Regions from separate parts of the Homo sapiens genome. Here region 1 is linked to region 2. The links are contacts of gene promoters, found by promoter capture Hi-C in human tissues and cell types (Jung and others, 2019). All regions are on one chromosome and are shown on one strand. The core of a region is centred on a gene start or on the middle of the fragment in contact, and the rest is flanking DNA. Distances in the headings are between cores, read along the strand shown.

Region 1 (3,095 bases), core at 254-2,753, 630 kb before region 2:
TTGTAGGTTTGCTTTGAGTATCAAATGGGAGAATTCATTTAAACCCTTAGAACACTTTCTAGTACATAGGAATTAGTGAATACAAGGAACCATTTAACTGAAATGCAGTTAACTTTCAGATGAAACTTTCTCATTGGAATGATTCAGATTTCTGAGATGAGCAATCCTCATTTTCTCTCTCTCTGTTCAACTTTATCTTTAATTTGCTCCTTTTTTAGCTTGGCTGTCAAATTTTTAATTATTAAAAGTCATGCAATTGTAAATATGTAGTTATCCATGCAATTGTAAATATGTGGGTTTTTCTTTTTGAATTTGATCTCTTTTTTTGTGTGTATGCCAAAAAGAGCAATAAACAAATACCAATGATGCGCTCAGCCAACAATTCATTACACTCTCTGAAGAGTAACTGGACAAGGAGAAAAACATAGGGAAAAAACCAACAGAATTTGTTGGCATGTTCTACACACAGACCATGGCTTTTCAGAAGCCAAGCTGAATCAAAACAGTTTTAAAAGAGGCAACCATTTGTAGAGGAGTCCTTGAAGGATTCTTCATTGTTTTCTTGGACAAAAAGAGACCAGTGGATCCAAGTGCTTCAAATACTTCTCTCTTATTTTCTTAACTGTAAGTTAAAATTTGTTTTACATTTTCACTTTGCATAAGGTTTTAAAGATATAAAGTATATAGCCAAAGCCAAACATATTGATTGAAATTTTTAAAATTATATTATTCAGATGCTCTAAATTATTTTATGCTTTATGTTATAGTACTAGTGAGTTATTTTATTTTAAAAACTTATGTAACATTTTAGTGTGATAAATGAAAGATGGCTAGATTCAGAGGTGTATATAAATATTATCAGACAATAAATTCTCTCTCTGACACTGCTTTGAATATCCTTTTGAGAATTTGTATGGTTTTACTTCTTTAGAATGTGTGAGCATTAGGGCAAGTTCCTTTTTTCTGTGTTCTTTTGTTCTTTTAAAATGTTTTTGTGGTTTGCTTATGGAGCTGTTTAAGTAGACCTCTGTATCCATAAAGTGAAGATTGGTGTTTTAATGTTTCTACTTTCTTAAGTTAGAATTTAGAGATTATATTGGGTTTTGCTGGCTTTGCCTTTTATTTTATGAAAAAGGGGAAATATAGCAAGTTCTCTCTGAACATTGTAATTTGTATATAATATCAACATTTATTCAAATGGACTTCAGTAGTCATAGTTGTGACACCAAATGATCAGCTCTGGATTTTCAAATTGAAAACAAAGAATAAGGATCATTATTACAAATCAATTACTCTAGTCATATTAGCCAATATTTTTGGTTTTAATCTGTATGTATCTTACATATTTACTTCATAAATGGAGATTTAAAAAAGAGGAATTAGCTTTTTGGGATTCTAAGAATGGCCGTAATGTTTTCGACTTTGCTTTGCCCAGTGGTTAACAAGATATCAAATACATGTGCCCAGATGTGCAATTCAAAATAAGACAGCTTGTGGTCAAATTGCTGACTGACAAGGAACTGCAAAGTGGTTTCTTCCTGTTAAACTTCTTTTTCTTAACAAGTAAAGAGAAAGTGTTTTTTGGATTCTAAAAATTACTAAGATCTTATTGAGGGATTTACTTTAGGTGGATGTAATGTTAAGATTTCATGGAAAAAAAGTGACTTCTGAGACAAAAGGAGAAAGGTCTTATATACTATCTCCTTTATCTCCCTCATAGCCATAAAAGCCTGGAGAGAAATAACAACTGAGAAGACATTTTATAATTACTAATACTTTATATTCTTTTTTAAAATCCTGATTGAATATGTTGCTACAGTGTCATATAAGGCATTTAGTTGGCACATCTGAAAATTATGCTTTCAAAATGTTCAAAGGCTTTCTGTAACTGAACTTTTTTTTTTTCTTTTTTCCCCTAGCTATTGCTCTGCAATATTTACTTTACCCTGTTAATGAACAGGACAAAATGGTTAAAAAAGAGATAAGCGTGCGTCAACAAATTCAGGCTCTTCTGTACAAGAATTTTCTTAAAAAATGGAGAATAAAAAGAGAGTTTATTGGTATGATTCACTATATATATATATATATATCCATAATTAATAAATGAAAATCCACCATATAGTATTATGCCATTTTTATTACTTTTCTTGTTTATAAATTCTGATTTTTAATTATCATACTGGCTAGTTGATTTGAGATTCTAAATACTGCAAAACGATATATATTTTGCAAAATAGGATAATATTTGTGTCAAATGTGAAATTAACTAAAAAGCTCATCTGACAGCTCCTGAAAAATAATCTTTTGCAGAATAGAACCAGCCATTTTCCACATAATTAATGCATTCAAATCTCAGAGTCATTCTGATTTACTCTTAGCTAACTTCTGTGTTGGGGGCAGGGACAGCCAGGGGAAAGATAAGCTAGGCAAAATAAAATAGATTTTTACGTGGGCAAACCCTGATACTATTTGGGGACATTTCGATTAATGTCATGTTATTTGGTAAGGCTGGGAAAATATCTATGAGTAAAAATCTGCAAACTTTTTTGGAATCTCTTCAAAGCCGTGCTTTTTGTAAACATAGAATGGTTTCATGGAATAAGATCACAGATTGTCAATACCTTTGCATTCTGTTGAGTTTCTTGTATGCTGACATGAATATTAAGACATTGCTTTGTGTTACTATGAGATATAACTGGATCTGCCTTGACCATGTAGAGATTGCAGTCTGTTCAGAAATAGTCAGTACCATTTCAGTGGGAGCTAACAGGATTTATATCATCCTTTTAAATTTCTGCAATAGCTTCCGAAGCAGTTCGATCAAATATTTTGCTTCGTATATTGAAGAAGGATACATCTATATTTATTACTCACTAGAATTTAAAAAAAGTATGTCAATCCAGAAATGTGAAAATATTGGTACAATGAACACCTATACATCCACCATCCAGATTTGACAGCTGTTAACATCTTGCCATCTTTGCTTCATCTCTCTGTCTCCTCTTCTTCCCTAAAATATATGTAATGGCTAAATATTTTAGTATCTCAAAAAATTAAGAACTTGGTTCCCTACATTACCACTATCCCACTACACA
Region 2 (3,238 bases), core at 101-2,600:
TACATAGTCAAGTGCCACATAACATTTTAGTCAATGCAACAGTGGTCCCATAAGATTACAATACTGTATTTTTACTGTATGTTTCCTATGTTTAGACACACAAGTACTCACCACTGTGTTACAACTCCCTACAGCATTCAGTAGTCGCATGCTGTACAGGTTTGTACCTAGGATCAACAGGCTATGCCATGTAGCCTCCGTGTGTAGTAGGCTGAACCATCTAGGTTTGTGTAAGTACACCCTGATGTTCACACACACAGGAAAATTGCCTAAGGATGCATTTCTCAGACGTGACACATAATTGTACTTCAATTCATTTAAGTCTCATAATAACCTTAGGAGGTAGGTTCCATCATTATCTTCATTTACATTTGAGGAGACTGCAAAGTCCCGAAGAAATCTTACACTGAACCACGGGGAAAAGAACTCTGGTCTGAACCCACAAGTCAAAGTATGTCTGAGGGTTCTCAATTCCAGCAAGGGAAGGGAGGGGGTTAAAGAGTAGAACTAACTTACATGGGAAGCTTTGCTGCCTGGGCAAGCAGCTTCTGGTGGATTTCCTGAAATTCAGCAGGGTGGGGCCGCCTCTCCAATCAGACTTCACTTTACTATACTATGGGGTCATTAAATAGAGGAGCCAGGAGTTCAGGACTCCCTCCCTCTTCTTCAAAAGGAAAACTGGGTGTGGGGAGGGTACATTACCTCACAGAATATTGGAGAAAGCCTAAATGTGTCCTCCAGTGATTCATTTGGGTGGACTACTTTCACACCAAGCTAAACTCAAAAGTTCGGAGTGGGGTCATCAGGGCCCCTCCCTCCCTGAGTGCAAGAAACATTTCCTCTTTTTAAAGTACAGGCAGAGTTGGAATCAAACTCCTTCCAAACAGGAAATCAGCAAGATTCTAGGTAAAACTGATACCTTACTTTTAAAGGTCAAGCTCTTTCCTTCACCAAGAGCGTGTTTCCTGAGCACCTACTATGTGCCAGGCATGTGGTAGGTAGTTGTTATGAATCTTGATGTGCCCTGCGCTCTGCAGGGGGGCGGAGGTGGAAGGGAACACAAAGAAAGAACAGATACCAACACTGCCACCCCCGCCTCCCCCCACCCCCCCCCACACACTCATTTGGCAAAGCTTACAGGAAAAAAAGGGTTTTAGGGGGCTTGTGGTGGTTTTTTTTTCCCTAAAAATAATAGAAATGGTAAAAAGAGGCTTCGGACCCCTCGCGTGAGTCCCTTAAAGTGACTGGATTGAGACCTGGGCAGGGAAAGTGGGAGGCCCGAGCGAGGGGGAGGGCGCAGGCAGTGGGTGGGTGACAAGGTGCAAGGGCAGCGCCGGCTTCGGATCGGGAGTTGGCCGTCAGCTGCGCCAGAGGCAGGTGCCAGCGGAGAGTGGGTGGGGGTGCCGGCGCCAGGCCAGGCTCGGGGAGGCCCCGCGCTACCTCTGCCTCTAGGAGTCCAGGCGCACAGACAAGCTCCCCGGAGCCGCTCCTGCTTCGCCAACTCCCCACTCGCGCCGCCCGTGCCAGCCGCCGGCACTGGCGTCTCCGCCGCCCGCAGGAGGAGTCGCGGGAGCACTAGCAGCCGCCGCCGAGCGACAGCATCCTCAGGAGAGACGCCCCGGGCTTTGCAGCCGGCGGCCTCCGTCCGCCCTCCGCGGTCGCCCCCCGCCCCGTCGCCCGTCCGCCCGCGGTGGCAGCCGGCGCCGGCGCCCCGGGGCCCTTCACCTGCCGCGAGCGTCCGGGCGGGCGGGCGCACGGGAGAAAAGGCGCAAGAAGCGGGCACCCCGGGAACCCCATTCCCTCGGCTCACTCGGCGCGGAGAAGCGACGCCCGCTGACTCCGAGAGCCCCGGTGCTCCGTGCACCTGGTCCCCAAGTTGAGGAGCGACACCCCTCCACAGGGGACTAGCCCGCGCGGGGAGCATTCCGGTCTCACTGACCCCGGCCCACCCGCGGGACTCCAGGCACCTCTTCTGCCCGCACCCCGCGACCCCTCCCGGGACCCCGGAGACAGCCGGCCTGCCCCCGGCGTCCCCCTTGGCCAGCACGCCATGCCGGGGCTGCGCCGGGACCGCCTACTGACTCTGCTGCTGCTGGGCGCGCTGCTCTCCGCCGACCTCTACTTCCACCTCTGGCCCCAAGTACAGCGCCAGCTGCGGCCTCGGGAGCGCCCGCGGGGGTGCCCGTGCACCGGCCGCGCCTCCTCCCTGGCGCGGGACTCGGCCGCAGCTGCCTCGGACCCCGGCACGATCGTGCACAACTTTTCCCGAACCGAGCCCCGGACTGAACCGGCTGGCGGCAGCCACAGCGGGTCGAGCTCCAAGTTGCAGGCCCTCTTCGCCCACCCGCTGTACAACGTCCCGGAGGAGCCGCCTCTCCTGGGAGCCGAGGACTCGCTCCTGGCCAGCCAGGAGGCGCTGCGGTATTACCGGAGGAAGGTGGCCCGCTGGAACAGGTGAGGACCCCGCCCGGGACGCGGGAGAGCGGGCGCTCTGGCCGGGGCCTCCCCGCGCCCCAGTCTCGAGTTTCCTGACGCCCCCGGCCCAGGGCTGCAGCGGCTCCACCCACGGCTCCAGCCCTGGCGCTGGGCTTAGAGTGTGTTCCCCACCCGAACCCCACCAGCTGTTGCAGACCTCACAGTCCAGTCCCGGAGTCAGATAGTACGAGGAAAAAGTTTCTATTGCAGCCGCACAGCGAAGAAACGCTCTCAGCCCCTTCCCCTTGAGCGCCTGGGTCGTCGTTGAGCCCCACTCCTGCTCCCTCGTCCACTCCCGCTCCCTCGTCCGCTCCCAAACCCCACTCTCTGTCCTGATGTGGAGGAAAGCTGCCGCTGGACTTCGGGTTTCCAGAATGAGGCCCCAAACAGGGTGACTCCAGAGCTAGTTGAAATTCAGCACTTAACTGTGCTCTTTGGGTAAACCTGGGCGCCTTCCAGAAAGCATGTTTCTCCCCAAAACCCAGTTCTTTCCCTTTCCTTATTCCTCTGCCCAGTTTCAGAGATCACAAGGGGGTCATCTGAGGCAGGAAGTAAATGGTCAGTTCTCTGCCGCAGCCACCCCATTGTTCACATTTAAAACGCGGCTTGGGCCCATCCAGCAAGTATTAGAACTTGAAGGCACTTTTATCGTCTTGTATGATCCTGGTGATTTGGACTGACTTGGATCTGCGGCTTGATGCTTCCACAGACGAGAAAAAAATCTTTCAGGGAATTTTTTAAACCCAAAGCAAAATACAGAGGA

The links. The method cuts DNA at HindIII sites, captures the fragments that hold promoters and counts their contacts. A contact is called where the count stands out against the background at its distance.
Region 1: a contact is called between a fragment that was not itself captured here and the fragment with the promoter of FAM20A in region 2, in 2 of the 25 tissues and cell types used here (dorsolateral prefrontal cortex and mesendoderm cells).

What each region holds. Positions count from the first base shown.
Region 1 is chr17:69,226,110-69,229,204 of GRCh38, reverse strand. It overlaps ABCA10 (ATP binding cassette subfamily A member 10), which reads left to right and starts at 381. Exons shown (of 39, transcript NM_001377321.1): 1 at 381-624; 2 at 1,920-2,060. The HindIII fragment of the contact is 7,757 bases long and covers 1-3,095 here.
Region 2 is chr17:68,599,479-68,602,716 of GRCh38, reverse strand. It overlaps FAM20A (FAM20A golgi associated secretory pathway pseudokinase), which reads left to right and starts at 1,350. Exons shown (of 11, transcript NM_017565.4): 1 at 1,350-2,454. The coding sequence starts at 2,051. The HindIII fragment of the contact is 4,098 bases long and covers 830-3,238 here.